Linked DNA regions of Homo sapiens: regions 2 and 3 are each linked to region 1. Evidence: promoter capture Hi-C in human tissues and cell types (Jung and others, 2019). All regions are on one chromosome and are shown on one strand. The core of a region is centred on a gene start or on the middle of the fragment in contact, and the rest is flanking DNA. Distances in the headings are between cores, read along the strand shown.

What was found. The method cuts DNA at HindIII sites, captures the fragments that hold promoters and counts their contacts. A contact is called where the count stands out against the background at its distance.
Region 2: a contact is called between the fragment with the promoter of TULP2 here and the fragment with the promoter of CYTH2 in region 1, in 1 of the 25 tissues and cell types used here (neural progenitor cells).
Region 3: a contact is called between a fragment that was not itself captured here and the fragment with the promoter of CYTH2 in region 1, in 1 of the 25 tissues and cell types used here (pancreas).

The regions. Positions count from the first base shown.
Region 1 is chr19:48,466,739-48,471,723 of GRCh38, reverse strand. It overlaps CYTH2 (cytohesin 2), which reads right to left and starts at 2,355. Exons shown (of 12, transcript NM_004228.7): 1 at 2,198-2,355; 2 at 1,224-1,371; 3 at 1,055-1,121. The coding sequence starts at 2,216. It overlaps LOC105372430 (a long non-coding RNA gene), which reads left to right and starts at 2,191. Exons shown (of 3, transcript NR_186576.1): 1 at 2,191-2,713. It overlaps KCNJ14 (potassium inwardly rectifying channel subfamily J member 14), which reads right to left. Exons shown (of 3, transcript NM_013348.4): 3 at 4,744-4,985. RefSeq lists a silencer at 2,150-2,339 and enhancers at 1,703-2,696, 2,890-3,049, 2,754-3,254. The HindIII fragment of the contact is 6,294 bases long and covers 466-4,985 here.
Region 2 is chr19:48,895,229-48,900,213 of GRCh38, reverse strand. It overlaps TULP2 (TUB like protein 2), which reads left to right and starts at 1,470. Exons shown (of 13, transcript NM_003323.3): 1 at 1,470-1,624; 2 at 2,345-2,377; 3 at 2,818-2,869; 4 at 3,658-3,784; 5 at 4,711-4,848. The coding sequence starts at 2,346. RefSeq lists a cis regulatory region at 726-1,725, enhancers at 1,260-2,075, 4,523-4,985 and a silencer at 3,957-4,096. The HindIII fragment of the contact is 17,343 bases long and covers 1-4,985 here.
Region 3 is chr19:48,725,873-48,730,857 of GRCh38, reverse strand. RASIP1 (Ras interacting protein 1) reads left to right here. Exons shown (of 12, transcript NM_017805.3): 5 at 1,268-1,921; 6 at 3,428-3,465; 7 at 3,700-3,851; 8 at 3,970-4,073. LOC124904737 (a long non-coding RNA gene) reads right to left here and starts at 2,714. Exons shown (of 2, transcript XR_007067286.1): 1 at 2,490-2,714. The HindIII fragment of the contact is 9,581 bases long and covers 1-4,985 here.

The DNA of each region.
Region 1 (4,985 bases), core at 1,106-3,605:
GGAAAGAATAACGTGACAACCTGTTAGCAGACGCAGTCCTTCAAGGGCTGTGAACTCGAAGCCCTGGCTAGACTGGAGGTTTCTCTCACTCTCTGTGCTACGAAGACCTCTCTACTACTGCTTTATCTCACTGTGAACTGTGGTATCGGTGTCCAAGGGCTCTCTGAGCACAAGGCAGCATCTAATTCTTCTTTGGGTCCCCAGCATTGCCCTACACAGGATCAGACTCTTGAGAGGCCTCAGAAAATGGGTGTTAAATGAGTATGTGAACAGGCCAGGCACGGTGGCTCATGCCTGTAATCCCAACACTTTGGGAGGCTGAGGCGGGCGGATCACCTGACGTCAGGAGTTTGGAAGCAGCCTGGCCAACATGGTGAAACCCCATCTGTACTAAAAATACAAAAATTAGCTGGGCATGGTGGTGGGAGCCTGTAAGCCCAGCTACTTGGGAGGCTGAGGCAGGAGAATCGCAGGAGGCGGAGGTTAGTGAGCCGAGATCACATCGCTGCACTCCAGCCTGGGTGATAGAGCAAGACTCTGTCTCACACACACACACAAAGAGTAGGTGAACAAAAGCCTTTCCTCCACCTGGTGAACACCTACTCATCCTTCAAACCCGACCTGAATGTCTCCTCCTCAAGGAAGCCCTCCCTGACTCCACCAGCCTGCCTCCTCCAGAGGTCCACTACCCTGATACCTTCCTCCGTCACGGCACCTTTGTGGGAGAGAGGTCAACTCTCCTTTGTGCATGTCACTTTGTCCACAGCCCCTACAAGACTCGAGCTCATCTTGGGACCAGAAATGCGCCCATACAAGTAGAAAGTGGAAGACGACCTTCCAGGCAGGGGACAAAACAGTCAGGAGGGCTGGAACACTTGGTCAGTGTTCAGTGTTCAGAAAACAAATGGACAGCCAGTATCTGAATCCAGGGATTAGGACCAAGTCTGTCCACCTAGAATAGACCCGGCACCATCACGCTTCTGGAACCCGGAGGTGCCAGAAGCCCCTGCCTGGATGTTTGCCCAGCTGATCCCAGTCCTGTGGCCCCAAGCACCTTCTTGGGGTCCATGTTGAACTTCTTCCTGCCCATTGCCATCTTCCGGTTCCGTTGCAAGGTCTTACTGCAGGAGCAGAGAGCAGGGTTGGGGGTGGAGGGTCAATGCCTGGGCATCCCTGGCCTCAGCCAACCCCACGCCCCCTAGGTCATCCGCCCCAGCCCTCACCTGCCCTCATTGGCCTCCAGCCCCTCCACCTCGCTCATGGCTTCACTGAGCTCCTCCCGCAGGCGCTGAATCTCCACCAGCAGCTCCTGCTTCCGCCGCCGGATGTTCTCCAGCTCCATCCGCTCCTCCGGAGTCAGGTCTGGGGGTTCTAGGGATCGGGGTCAAGGTTTAAAAGTCAGTGCTAGGGGCCGTGAGCCTGAATTCCTGCAATCTGGGGGCGGACAGAGCTGGGAGAGGATGTGTAAGGGGCTTCCTATGTCTGCACAGAAGAATGGGCTGGGGGCCTGGATTCCTCCCTGCAGAGGAGAAAGAGCTGGGGCTCTAAACTCTTGAGTCCTGGGGGACAAGGGGAATTGGGGCCCGGATTCCTGAGTCTGAGGGAGAAGGGGAATGGGTGCCTGAGCTCTTAGATCTGAGGGAAGAAAGGGCTGGGGGCCTCGGCTTCTAGGTCCATTACTTGGAAGGGGACTGAGGCCTTGGTTTTCTGACTCCATTACTGGCGAGGTAGCTGGGGACCTGGTTATCCGGACTACTGGGTCCATGAAAAGTCACTACAGCCGGGGGAACTGATGACAGCTCAGGAGAGTTGGGAAGGTGGGGCGGGACATCGAAGGCCCCCGCCCCCCAAGATTTCTCCCCTCCCCGCAACCCAAGCGCCCCTCCCCGGCCCCGGCAGGCGCTGGGCTCGCCCGCCCCTCCAGCGGGAATGGTTCCGCCCCGGCCTCGCCTCCACCACTCCATCCCGCCCCTCCCGCCGCCACCGGAAACAGGCTCAGCCCAAACAATGGCCTGGAACGCCCGGCTTTCGGGCCCCGCCGGAAGCCCGTCCAGCGCCCAACAAAAGCGGCGCGACAAGTCTACGACTGAGCCGAACGCTTCTGGGCGCCGCGCGCCAGGGGGAAACGTTCGCGGCGGAACGTTCAGGAGAAAACGCTCCAGCAACTCCCAGCCGACCCCGCCCCTCCCCGACCTACCATAGACGCCGTCCTCCATGGCGGCTAGGAAGGCCCGCGGGGAATCCGGGGCGGTCCCGCCAGTCGGGCCTGGATCCGCGTTGGCCCGCGGGCTCGGGTGAGCCCGCTCAAACGCCCCGGGAGCCACCGCCGCCTCCTCAGCGCCAGTCCTCAGCGCTGAAAAGACTCTTCCCTTCGTCGCCCAACCGCCCCTTCAGTAGGGACCGCCCCTCTTTTTGACACTGTCCAATCCACAGTGGGCGCTTTCGTCCTCCCCGCCCTCGCCACCAAAGGATCGTTCTCCAGGGCCAACAGTCGTACAAAAAGCCGGTGTAGGTATGTCCGGCCAGAGGTAGACGGCCCGCGGGGCCAATCGGAGTGCAGGCAGGGCAGCAGGCCCCGCCTCCGAAACAACAGAAAGCACTTGACAGGCTTGCTCTCCAATGAGAAGCCCCGGAAAAGTGTCGCGCGGAGGCGGAGCCACGCGGTACAGCCACCTCTGCGCCTGCTCAAAGGCCCTGGACACTTGGAGTCTAGGTAAACCGAGCCCCGCCTCCGATAATACGTTGCTAGGGGGCGGTACTTTGTTAGTCTTGTTGCTAGGAGGCGGGGCTAGAACTGGCTTGTTTCCGTAAGCCACACCTCCTAGCAGGCCATGCTGGCTTCTGACCGCAAAGGTTGCCATGCAACCGGGAGCGGCTTTAGGCCTCCTTTTCTTTTGCATTTCTTCTCCGCGTATTTCCCCTCCTCTCAGCCCCTTCTTACCGCCGAACTCCTTCTTTATCACCATCTATGCCCTCCCCATCCCCCTCAGCCTCTTCGGAGTCGTGGAGTGGTGAAACAAAAGACTTCTTCGTTTTTTCTTTTTTTTTTTTTTTTGAGACAGAGTCTTGCTCTGTCGCCCAAGCTGGAGTGCAGTTGCGCGATCTCGGTTCACTGCAACCTCCGCCTCCCGGGTTCAAGCAATTCTCCTGCCTCAGCCTCCCGAGTAGCTGGGATTACAGGGTTGCACCATGATGGTGCATGCCTGGCTATTTTTTGTATTTTTAATAGAGACGGGCGTTTCACCATGTTGGCCAAGCTGGTCTCGAACTCCTGACCTCATGATCCGCCCACCTTGGCCCTCCAAAGTGCTGGGGTTACAGGCGTGAGCCACCGCGCCTGGCCAAGATTTACTTTTTTCTAAATGCTATGCTATTTGGTATCGGTCATGGGGAATGGAACAGGGGAAGGTGAAATTTAGTGAAAGCACAGGCTCGGCCTTCCTGGCACCTTCTGCCGCTCAGACTCCTCCCTCATTTCTCCAAACTCCTTCCTTTAGCTTAGCATCCTCCTAAGACTCCTCCCTTCCCCAAGCATCCTCCTGCTAAGACAACTCCCCTTTCCTCAGCATCCTCCCACCTCTCTGATTCCTTCTCCCATCTCAGAGGCCTTTTTTCCTCTCTGGCTCCCCTCACGTCACGGTCCCCCTTGTCCTCTCATACTCTTGCCCTTTTTTTTTTTTTTTTTTTTTTTGAGACAGAGTTTTGCTCTTTTGCCCAGTCTGGAATGAACTGGCATGATCTCAGCTCACTGCAACCTCCACCCACAAGGTTGACGCGATACTCCTACCTCAGCCTCCCAAGGAGCTGGGATTATAGGCGCCCACCACCATGCCCGGCTAATTTTTGTATTTTTAGTAGAGACGGGGTTTCGCCATGTTGGCCAGGCTGGTCTCAAACTCCTGACCTCAGGTGATCCACCCGCCTCAGCCTCCCAAAGTGCTAGGCGTGAGCCACCGTGCCCATAGGCGTGAGCCACCGTGCCCAGCCACCCTTGCCCTTCTTAAACTCCTCCCTCCTCTGAGGCCCCTTCCCCTTCCCCTTCCCCAGCCTCTATGTCCCATTATTTGTAACGGAATGTGGTCAAGGGACTGGCTGGAATAGGGAACCCAGGCACCCCTGTAAAGAGGGAAGCCGTAATGGGGGCTGAAGTGGTGTCTGGGCCTCGTCCTCATTTGCTGTCCCTGGGCTGGGCAGGTGGAGACGGATTCAGGGCCAGGACCTAGTTAAGCTGTCGGATTAGACATGGAGGCTCCTAATCCCCTCACTGACCTTTATGAGTGGCCCAGGCCCTGCCCTCCCCAGTGGAAACCCAGGCTGGGCTGCCCTGCTCCCATACTCCTTTCAAACGAAACCCCCTCCCTGCCCCTTCACTTCCAACTTAACATCCTTCCCCAACCCTGCGTTTCCATTGCCCCCATCCCTACCTACCCCAGACACCCTGAGCTGAGAGAGCAGCCAGCTAATTAATCCCATCCGGTTATTACATGGGGATTCTGAGGGATAAAGGGAGATGGAGAAGCTGGAGGGGGCATTTGGGTTGATGCAGCACTTGTGAAGGCTGAATGGCAATGACAGTGGCTGCCCTCGGTCCAGAACACGGGGTGGGAACACGTCCTCCTCACTGTCACTGGCTCCCTCTGCAGTTGGCTCCCAGCCTGCGGGGCACTTAGGTAGATGGTAGCATGGGCAGGGGGCCAGGTCGGAGGACCCATGCTCGAGAAACACATTCGCAGACACATCCGCTAGGGCTCCCAGTTCTTTAATCTGGGGGACAGGTCTCCCCCTAAAACACTCACTCTCCCACAATGGGAAGAACCCTGGTGTCCAGAGCTACCTCCTCCTCCCCAGGTCCCCAAGCTAGGCCAGGGAAGTGACTCTGGCTGTTAGCCACAGCCCACGCCTACCCTTGCCCTGTGATTCAGACACCCGAGTTCAGAGCCAGCCTCCAAGAGTATCTTACATCCCAGCGTCTCCTGGAAGGCCGT
Region 2 (4,985 bases), core at 221-2,720, 430 kb before region 1:
CGGCCCCGCCCCTTGCCGAAGCCGCTCGCATTTTCGTGAAAGCCTCGCTTCTTTCTCGGAATCCCAGCCTCTTGACGCCACATTTCCCGCCTATGCCAAAAGAGAGAGAAGGCTTTCAAAGATAACTACAACTCCCTGCCGGCCGGGGGAAAAATAACTTCCGCGGGCATCGTGGCCCCTTCGCCTCATGGGAGCTGTAGTTTTCCCATTTATTTTCGCCCCACGAAGTGCCTGGAAGTTATAGCGCGGTAGCAATTGCATAGCCTTTCTTATGAGTTTCTTTCTTCTTCTTCTTATTATTCGAGACAGGGTTTGCTCTGTCACCCAGGTTGGAGTGCAGTGGCGCAATCACTTCTCACTGCAGCCTCTACCTCCCAGGCCCAAGCAATCCTCCCGCGTCAGCCTCCCAAGTAGATGGGACCACAGGCCACACTACCATGCCTGGCTAATGTATATTTTTTAAATTTTTAATACAAATATTTAAATCTTTAATTCTTTTTTAGCCTTTTTTTTTTTTTAACGTTCTGTCTTTCACACTTCTCACACTTTGTTGTTGTTGTTTTTTAAAGAGACGGATGTCAAGCCGGGCTTGGGGGTTCACTCCTGTAATCCCAGCACTTTGGGAGGCTGAGGCAGGCAGATCACCTGAGGTCAAGGGTTTGAGACCAGCCTGGCCAACATGGAGAAACCTCGCCTCCACTAAAAATACAAATTAGCCAGGCGTGGTTGCGCATGCCTGTAATCCCAGCTACTCAGGAAGCTGAGGCAGGACAATCTCTTAAACCCGGGAGGCGGAGGTTGCAGTGAGCCGAGATCGCGCCACTGCACTCCAGCCTGGGCGACAGAGTGAGACTACGTCTCAAAAAAAAAAAAAAATCTCTGTGTTGCTGGTCTGGATCTGGATCTCCTGGACTCAAGCAATCTTGCCTCCCCGTCTCCGCCTCCCAAAGTGCTGGGATTACAGGCGTGAGCCACTGCGCCCCGCCTCTTTTAAGTTTCTTGTAAGCGAGATGTGTACAGTGAGGCCGCGAGGTCTCTGGTCTCCCGCTCTCTCTCTCTCTTTTTTTTTTTTTTTTTGAGACGGTGTCTACCTCTGTCACACAGGCTGGAGTGCAGTGGCGCGATCTCAGCTCACTGCGAGCTCCGCCTCCCGGGTTCACGCCATTCTCCTGCCTCAGCCTCCCGAGTAGCTGGGACTACAGGCGCCCGCCCGCCACAACGCCCGGCTAATTTTTTTGTGTATATATATATATTTTTTTTTAGTAGAGACGGGGATTCACCATGTTAGCCAGGATGGTCTAGATCTCCTGACCCCGTGATCCGCCCGCCTCGGCCTCCCAAAGTGCTGGGATTACAGGCGTGAGCCACCGCGCCGGGCCGGTCTCTGGTCTCTTTAAGGAACCCCCACACGGCATTCGTGTTCAGAACCCCCGGAGCAGGGTTGCCTGGCTGCATCAGTGACCGAGTTCGTTACTTTGTTGGAAGTGGAGAGTGGAGGGTCAGAAGGGAGTGGACCAGTTCAGGTCCCAGAGGGAATCCTCCCTCCCTCTGAGCCGTCTTTCTTCTCCTCCCTATTTCGCAGATATCCCGAGATTAGGTCCCCAGCTTCCAAAGAGAGGATCAGGTATGTTTAGAGATTGGCCAGAGAGGCAAGGTACCGAGGCATCAATGTGAGCAGCCTCTCCAGGCACCTGGTGAGGAGAACAAGTCTCCCGGATCCCAGGCAGGTGGGCAGTGGAGTTCTAGGCCGCTGGGGGCTGGGTGTTTGAAGTGCACAGTCCTGAGTTCTGATGCCTGGGTGCTGGAGAATTAGATATTTGGGGGAGAGAGAAGCGGACTTGCGGACCCCCGTGGGAAGCTGGAAACAGGCTACTAGATCCCGACAGGAGTGGGTGCTGGGATTCGGGCTGCCTGGGTCCGGAAGCAAATTTAAAGGTAAGGATCAGGCCGGGCACTGTGGCTCATGCCTGTAATCCTAGCACTTTGGAAGGCCAAGGCGGGCAGATCACCTGAGGTCAGGAGTCCGGCACCAGCCTGGCCAACATAGTGAAAACCGGTATCTACTAAAATACAAAAAAATTAGGCAGAATAGCGGACGCCTGTAGTCCCAGCTACTCGGGAGGCTGAGGCAGGAGAATCGCTTGAACCCAGGAGGTGGAGGTTGCAGTGGCCGAGATGGCGCCACTGCACTGCAGCCTGGGCGACAGAGCGAGGCTCAGCTGTCTCTAAATACATAAATAAATAAATAAATAAATAAATAAATAAGGCTAAAGATTAGGTGCTGGTGGGCAGGATCCATTGGGATGTTGGTTCTGATCCTGACTCCTCATTCTTGCTTCTGCAGAATGTCTCAGGATAATGACACATTGATGAGAGAGTGAGTAGGGAAACAGATGGGTAGGGGTGGAGGTGGAAAGGGCTGGGGACCCCGTGCACTCGGCTCTGGCTTCATAACCATGTTTGCAGGTTCAGCACCATCGGCCTTGCAGGAAGGGGCTGGGGACCTGGACTCCTGTGTCCTGAAGGGATGGGGCTAGGGTGCAGACTTCTGGGTCTGAAAGAGAAGGGGTTGGGGGCCCCAGACTCCTGAATCCTGAGACAGGAGGGACCTGGGATCTCTGGGTCCCGGCTTCTGTGGGCCAGTGCCAGGAGAAAGGGCCCTATAACTGGTGGAGCAGGCTCAGGTTCTGCACCTCCTGTGACCTCACAGGTGCCCAGAACCCAAGCTGAGATAGGGGCAGGATGGGGGAAGGAGGGACTCTCTTGGGCAACCGAGGTTCCCTGTGCACTGTCACCATGGGCCTGTGTCTCTCTCAGCATCCTGGGGCATGAGCTCGCTGCTATGAGGCTGCAGAAGCTGGAACAGCAGGTATTGTGCCCAGGAATCTCACCACTCCAACTCTTCCGCCTTCTGTGCCTCCCCAGGGGCCTCTCCACCAGGTCTTGCTCTAGGACTCCCAGCCCGTGTTGGCTGTCTCTCATCCTTGAGTTTTCCCACTGAGAAATGAGAAAATAGGAATTTGGGGCCGGGCAGGGCAGCTCACGGCTGTAATCACAGCACTTTGGGATGCTGAGGTGGGCGGATCACTTGAGGTCAGGAGTTCAAGACAAGCCTGGCCAACACGGCGAAACCCCGTCTCTACTAACACACAAAAAATTAGCCAGGTGTGGTGGCAGGCGCCTGTAATCCCAGCTACTCGGGAGGCTGAGGCAGGAGAATCGTTTGAATCCGGGAGGCGGAGGCTGCAGTGAGCGGAGATCGTGGTACTGCACTCCAGCCTGGGCGATAGAGCCAGACTCTGTCTCAAAAAGAAAAAAAAAAAGTAAGAAAGGAAAAAGAAAAGAAAATAGGAATTGGGGGTTCTAAAGAAGCAAACAAACCCTTGTGATGAATTTCTAAGGAACAAGGCTTCTAGAAGGCAGGACTCCTGGGTCCTGGGGGATGAGAGGACAGGGTGTCAGGACTCTTGGATCTGAGTCCAACGGTGGAATAAGGGAGGAGCTGCTGAAGAACTGAGGGCCTGGACGTGTGGGCCCCAGTGGAGGAAGGGGTTCACGAACTCTCGCGCCGATGCGAGCCCTTGCCCCAGGCCCCACCTCACTTCTGTCTTCCCATCTGGTTCCTGTCCCGGACACCCACCTCTCCCATCTCCCCAGCGGCGGCTGTTTGAAAAGAAGCAGCGACAGAAGCGCCAGGAGCTCCTCATGGTTCAGGCCAATCCTGACGCTTCCCCGTGGCTTTGGCGCTCTTGTCTGCGGGAGGAGCGCCTTTTAGGTGACAGAGGTGACCAAAGACCCCTGGGGGCGTTCGCCTGGAGGGGAGGGGCCTGTGGGAGTCTGTGGGCGGGGCCTAGTGGATGAAGGGGTGGAGCCTTAGGGTGGGGACTTGGCAGTGGATGGGGGCGGGCCTTGGCCCAGGAGAGCTTTAGAACAGGGCCTGTGGGCGCCCAGGGGAGAGGCTTGTGGGGGCCCCCCGCGGCAGGACCTGTGAGGGAGGGGTTCGGGGCAGGGCTACAGAGCGCAGGGGCGGGGCATGGTACAACTAGCAGGGGAAAGGGGCAAGAGAATGTGATGATTGGGCTTGGCAGAGCTCGGTGGTGGAGCCTGGGAAAGCCGGGACCCCCACCCCAAACCCGGGATTGCGGAGACGGGGTCTAGGGGTCCGGGGCGGGGCGCGGTCTCATTACGAGAGCCTGGCGCGAGATTCTTTACGTGCGGAGCCCGCAACAATCCAGCGGCAGGGCTGTGCTTGTTTGAGGCTTAGGATGCAGTTTGGGACCTGGGTCTCAAGGTTTGGGCGGTCCGCGAAACAGGGTGATTTTTTTTTCTTTTTTGAGACGGAGTTTAGCTCTTGTTGCCAAAGCTGGAGTACAATGGCAGGATATCGGCTCACCGCAACCTCCGTCTCCCGGGTTCAAGCGATTCTCCTGCCTCAGCCTCCCGAGTAGCTGTGATTACAGGCATGCGCCACCAAGCCCGGCTAATTTTGTGTTTTTAGTAGAGACGGTGTTTCTCCATGTTGGTCAGGCTGGTCTCGAACTCCCGACCTCAGGTGATCCGCCTGCCTCGGCCTCCCAAAGTGCTGGGATTACAGGCGTGAGCCACGGCGCCTGGCGGGGGTGATATTTGGGAGCCCAGTGACGGGGTGGATTTTGGTTGAGGACCGGAATTTGTAGATCGTTTTCATGGGCTCGCTGAACCTTCTCCCAGGCCTTGGGAACCCTTTCCTCCGGAAGAAAGTGTCAGAGGCACATCTGCCCTCTGGCATCCACAGTGCCCTGGGCACCGTGAGCTGTGGTGGAGACGGCAGGGGCGAGCGCGGCCTCCCGACACCGCGGACAGAAGCAGGTATTTGCGAGTCCACCGACCTCCTAGACCCCAGAACTCCGTCCCCACTAAAACCCAGGAGTCTGGTGCCTCAATCCATCTGTCCAAAATACTCAGGAGCTCAGGACCGCACCCACTCCTTCCTCACACCAAGGAGT
Region 3 (4,985 bases), core at 1,040-3,539, 260 kb before region 1:
TTTAGTAGAGACAGGTTTCACCGTGTCTGGTCTTGAACTCTTGACCTCAGGTGATTCACCTGCCTCGGCCTCCCAAAGTGCTGGGATTGCAGGTGTCAGCCACTATGCCCAGTCCAAGGGAATCTCTTTAAAAGTACCCATTCATTGCTTGAGGAATATTGAGAAAAACTATTATTGGAAGGGGAAATATATCTGGAAGCCTTTACCATGGTGGGGTGGGGGTGAAATAATGGACAGGTGGGACCAGGGATGGGGAAAAGGAGATTTCCTTGGAAAGGTCCATTCTTTGAGGGTGAGGGTAGTTGCACAGTTCATTTTAGAAATAGGGATCTCCTTGAAAGCATCTAATGCTTGAGGGAAAGAAATGGTAGAGCCCATGTTAAGAAATGGGTCTCTGGCTGGGTGTGGTGGCTCACACCTGTAATCCCAGCACTTTAGGAGGCCAAGGCAGGCGGATCACAAGGTCAAGAGATCGAGACCATCCTGGCCAACATGGTGACCCTGTCCCTACTAAAAATACAAAAATTAGCTGGGCGTGATGGTGCGCGCCTGTAGTCTCAACTACTCGGGAGGTTGAGGCAGGGGAATCGCTTGAACCCGGGAGGCGGAGGTTGGAGTGAGCCGAGATCGTGCCACTGCACTCCAGCCTGGCAACAGAGCGTGACTCTGTCTCAAAGAAAAAAAGGGGGGTCTCCTTGTACATAGCCGGTCTTCGGGATGGGTGTTATGGGACCATCCACCATACAAAGTGCCTGGGAAGAGTCCACTCAGTGGCGTTGCGGGTGCTTAGAGAGTCCTTTGAGATCCAGATCTCCTTGGAGTGTCTATTCAAAGTCGGTGGGGGGCCGGGCGCGATAGTTCACGCCTGTAATCCCAGCACTTCGGGAGGCCGAGGTAGGTGGATCACCTGAGATCAGGAGTTTAAGACCAGCCTGGCCAACATGGTGAAACCCTTTCCCTACTAAAAATACAAAAATTAGCCGGGTGTGGTGGCAGGCGCCTGTACTCCCAGCTACTCAACAGACTGAGGCAGGAGAATTGCTTGAACTCAGGAGGCAGAGGTTGCAGTGAGCCGAGATCGTGCCACTGGACTCCAGCCTGGAGGACAGAGCGAGACTCCATCTCAAAAAAAAAAAAAAAAAAAAAAAGAAGAAGAAGGAAAAAAAAAGTTGGTGGGAATAGAAAAGTTGTTGTAGAAAACAGAGAGAACAGATCTGAAGATATGGATTGAAGTGATGTCCTTAGTGCATCCTCGTTTCCCCTCCAGGACTTTGTGGTGTATGTGATGACGCGAGAGCAGCACGTGTTTGGGCGAGGTGGGAACTCGTCTGGCCGCGGGGGGTCCCCGGCTCCCTATGTGGACACCTTCCTCAACGCCCCGGACATCCTGCCGCGTCACTGCACAGTGCGCGCGGGCCCTGAGCACCCGGCCATGGTGCGCCCGTCCCGGGGCGCCCCAGTCACGCACAACGGGTGCCTCCTGCTGCGGGAGGCTGAGCTGCACCCGGGCGACCTCCTGGGGCTGGGCGAGCACTTCCTGTTCATGTACAAGGACCCCCGCACTGGGGGCTCGGGGCCTGCGAGGCCGCCGTGGCTGCCCGCGCGCCCCGGGGCCACGCCGCCAGGCCCTGGCTGGGCCTTCTCCTGTCGCCTGTGCGGCCGCGGCCTGCAGGAGCGCGGCGAGGCACTGGCCGCCTACCTGGACGGCCGTGAGCCAGTCCTGCGCTTCCGGCCGCGCGAGGAGGAGGCGCTGCTGGGCGAGATCGTGCGCGCCGCAGCCGCCGGCTCGGGAGACCTGCCGCCCCTCGGGCCCGCCACGCTGCTGGCGCTGTGCGTGCAGCATTCCGCCCGTGAGCTGGAGCTGGGCCACCTGCCACGACTGCTGGGCCGCCTGGCCCGGCTCATCAAGGAGGCCGTCTGGGTGAGCGCCCCCCAATCGCCGTCCAGCCCCACCAGCGCCCCAAGTCCCTTCTCCAGCCTCCCTTCCCTACCTTCAACCCTTTTCATAGCTGGGCTGGATACTACTGTTCCCATGACGCCTCGGGAAGGATTTGGGGTTTTGGGTTTTGTTTGTTTGTTTGTTTGCTTTTGTTTTTGAGACGGAGTCTCGCTCTGTTACCCAGGCTGGAGTGCAGTGGCGGTCTTGGTTCACTGCAACCTCTACCTCCGGGGTTCAAATGATTCTTCTGCCTCAGCCTCCCGAGTAGCTGGGATTGCAGGCGCCTGCCAGCACGCCCGGCTAATTTTTTGTATTTTTAGTAAGACGGGGTTTCACCATATTGGCCAGGCTTGTCTGGAACTCCTGACCTCGTGGTTCGCCCGCCTCGGCCTCCCAAAGTGCTGGGATTACAGGTGTGAGCCACCACACCCGGTGTTTTGGGGTTATTAAGCAAGGGGCCCCCCCATAGAATGCTGGGAGATGTAGATCCACTGCACTTAGAGGGAAGCCCAAACTCACCTTAGGAGAGCTCACCTAAGCACGAACTCACCTTAGGAAGAAACCATTATGGGAGATGGTGGGGGAGAGATCCCACTGGATGAGAAGTTGACAGAGATCAGTGTGAGAATTCACCGCAGCCCATTGGGCTTGGAGCTTGGATAGCAGTGAGCGAGTTCATTCTTGGAGGCGAGGAAGCACAAATCCACTGGACCTACAGATGGAAGTTCCAGAAAGAAACCATTCAGAGTGGGGGAAACGTTCCATCCTATTGAGCTAGGGCCTAACCAGAGAGGTTTAAGGAGTTTCTTGGGGGTAAAAATTGGAGAAGAGGACCTGAAGGAGCTAGATCACTCATAATCATAGGGTGTGTATGTTTTAAAAAGTAAGGAGAGACCATTCTAAAGCTTGTGGGATTAGAATTTGTCTCAAGAGCCAGGCGTGGTGGCTCATGCCTGTAATCCCGGCACTTTGGGAGGCCGAGGCGGGCAGATCACCTGAAGTCGGGAGATCGAGACCATCCTGGCTAACATGGTGAAACCCCGTCTCTACTAAAAATGCAAAAAATTAGCCGGGCATGGTAGCACATGCCTGTAATCCCAGCTACTTGGGAGGCTGAGGCAGGAGAATCACTTGAACCTGGGAGGCAGAGGTTGCAGTGAGCCAAAATTGAGCCATTGCACCCCAGCCTGGGCAACAACAGGGTAACTCCATCTCAAAAAAAAAAAAAAAAAAAAAGAATCCGTATGAAGAGTGAAGGCCGGTTGCAGTGGCTCATGCCTGTAATCCTAGTTCTTTGGGAGGCCAAGGTGGGAGGATCATTTGAGCTCAGGAGTTGGAGACCACCGGTGGCAACATAGTAAGACCCCATCTCTAAGAAAAGTAGGACCAGTCTCTATGAGAGTTGTGCTTCTATAAAAACCAGGGTATTAACTCTTAAGCCCCTCAGTGGATCCCCCTCACCTTGATTCTGATCTTACTGTTCCACAGGAAAAGATTAAGGAAATTGGAGACCGTCAGCCAGAAAAGTAAGAGAAATTCTGAGCAGAGTGGTCTGGAGGGATGCAGGGGTTGGGTTTTGCGTCTAGTTCTGTGTTCACCCCATGCATGCCCCAGTGCAAGTTTCTGCTTCTCCTTGCGCTCAACTTTTCCAGCTGCGCAATGGGAGTTGGTCTTGCTCTCCCACTTAGACTTAGATCTTGGGGTTTGTAAACTATGATGAGGGTTGGGCAGGGATCACAAATTCCTTCCTCTTTTTCAAGCCACCCTGAGGGGGTCCCCGAGGTGCCCCTGACTCCTGAAGCTGTGTCTGTGGAGCTGCGGCCACTCATGCTGTGGATGGCCAACACCACGGAGCTGCTTAGCTTTGTGCAGGAGAAGGTGCTGGAAATGGAGAAGGAGGCTGACCAAGAGGGTGAGCTCTGACTCAGGCTCAGGCTTGTCCAAGTCTCCCATCATGCCCTGCACCTGGGGACCTGGGCTCCTGGCTGCCGACTTCTGGTTCTCCCTCTTAACCCCAAGCCTGTCCTCAGACCCACAGCTCTGCAATGACTTGGAATTATGTGATGAGGCCATGGCCCTCCTGGATGAGGTCATCATGTGTACCTTCCAGCAGTCTGTCTACTACCTCACCAAGGTTGGCCCTTGCCTCTTACTTCCTGTTTGACATAGCATCACTTCCTGTTTCACGTAATATCACTTCCTGTTTGTGGTAACATCACTTCTTGTTTGAACTACACTGTGTGGCTCTGATGTCACTATTTGACTCAAGATTTTCTGCTTTTCTCTGACATGACATCCCATCTCACCCAAGGACTTTGCTGTTCTGACACCACTTGTTAGAGCTTACATCACTTCCTGCCTTTCTGGCTTCTTTTCCTTTGTAATCATCACCTGGGCAAACGCGGTGGCTCACATCTGTAATCCCGGCACTTTGGGAGGTCAAGGCGGGTGGATCACTTGAGGTCAGGAGTTTGAGAGCAGCCTGGCCAACATGGTGAAACCCCATCTCTACTAAAAATACAAAATTAGCCAGGCATGGTGGCCTGCGCCTATAATCCCAGCTATTGGAGAGGCTGAGGCACAAGAATCACTTGAACCTGGGAGGCGGATGTTGCAGTGAACCAAGATTACTTCATGCCACTGCATTCCAACCCGGGAGATGGAGCGAGACTCTGTCTCAAAAGAGTAATATAACGCCGGATGCAGTGGCTCACGCCTGTAATCCCAGCACTTTGGGAGGCCAAGGTGGGCAGACCGCGAGGTCAGGAGTTTGAGACCAGACTGACCAACATGGTAAAACCCCGTCTCTACTAAAAATACAAAAATTAGCTGGGTATGGTAGCGCGTGCCTGCAATCCCAGCTACTCAGGAGGCTGAGGGAGGAGAATCGCTTGAACCCGGGAGGCGGAGGTTGCAGTGAGCTGAAATCGCACCATTGCACTCCAGGGCGACAGAGACAGACTCCATCTCAAAAAAGTAAAATAAAATTAAACGAAATAAAAAAAAAAGTAATCATCACCACTTTTGACAGGCTGACCTCACTACT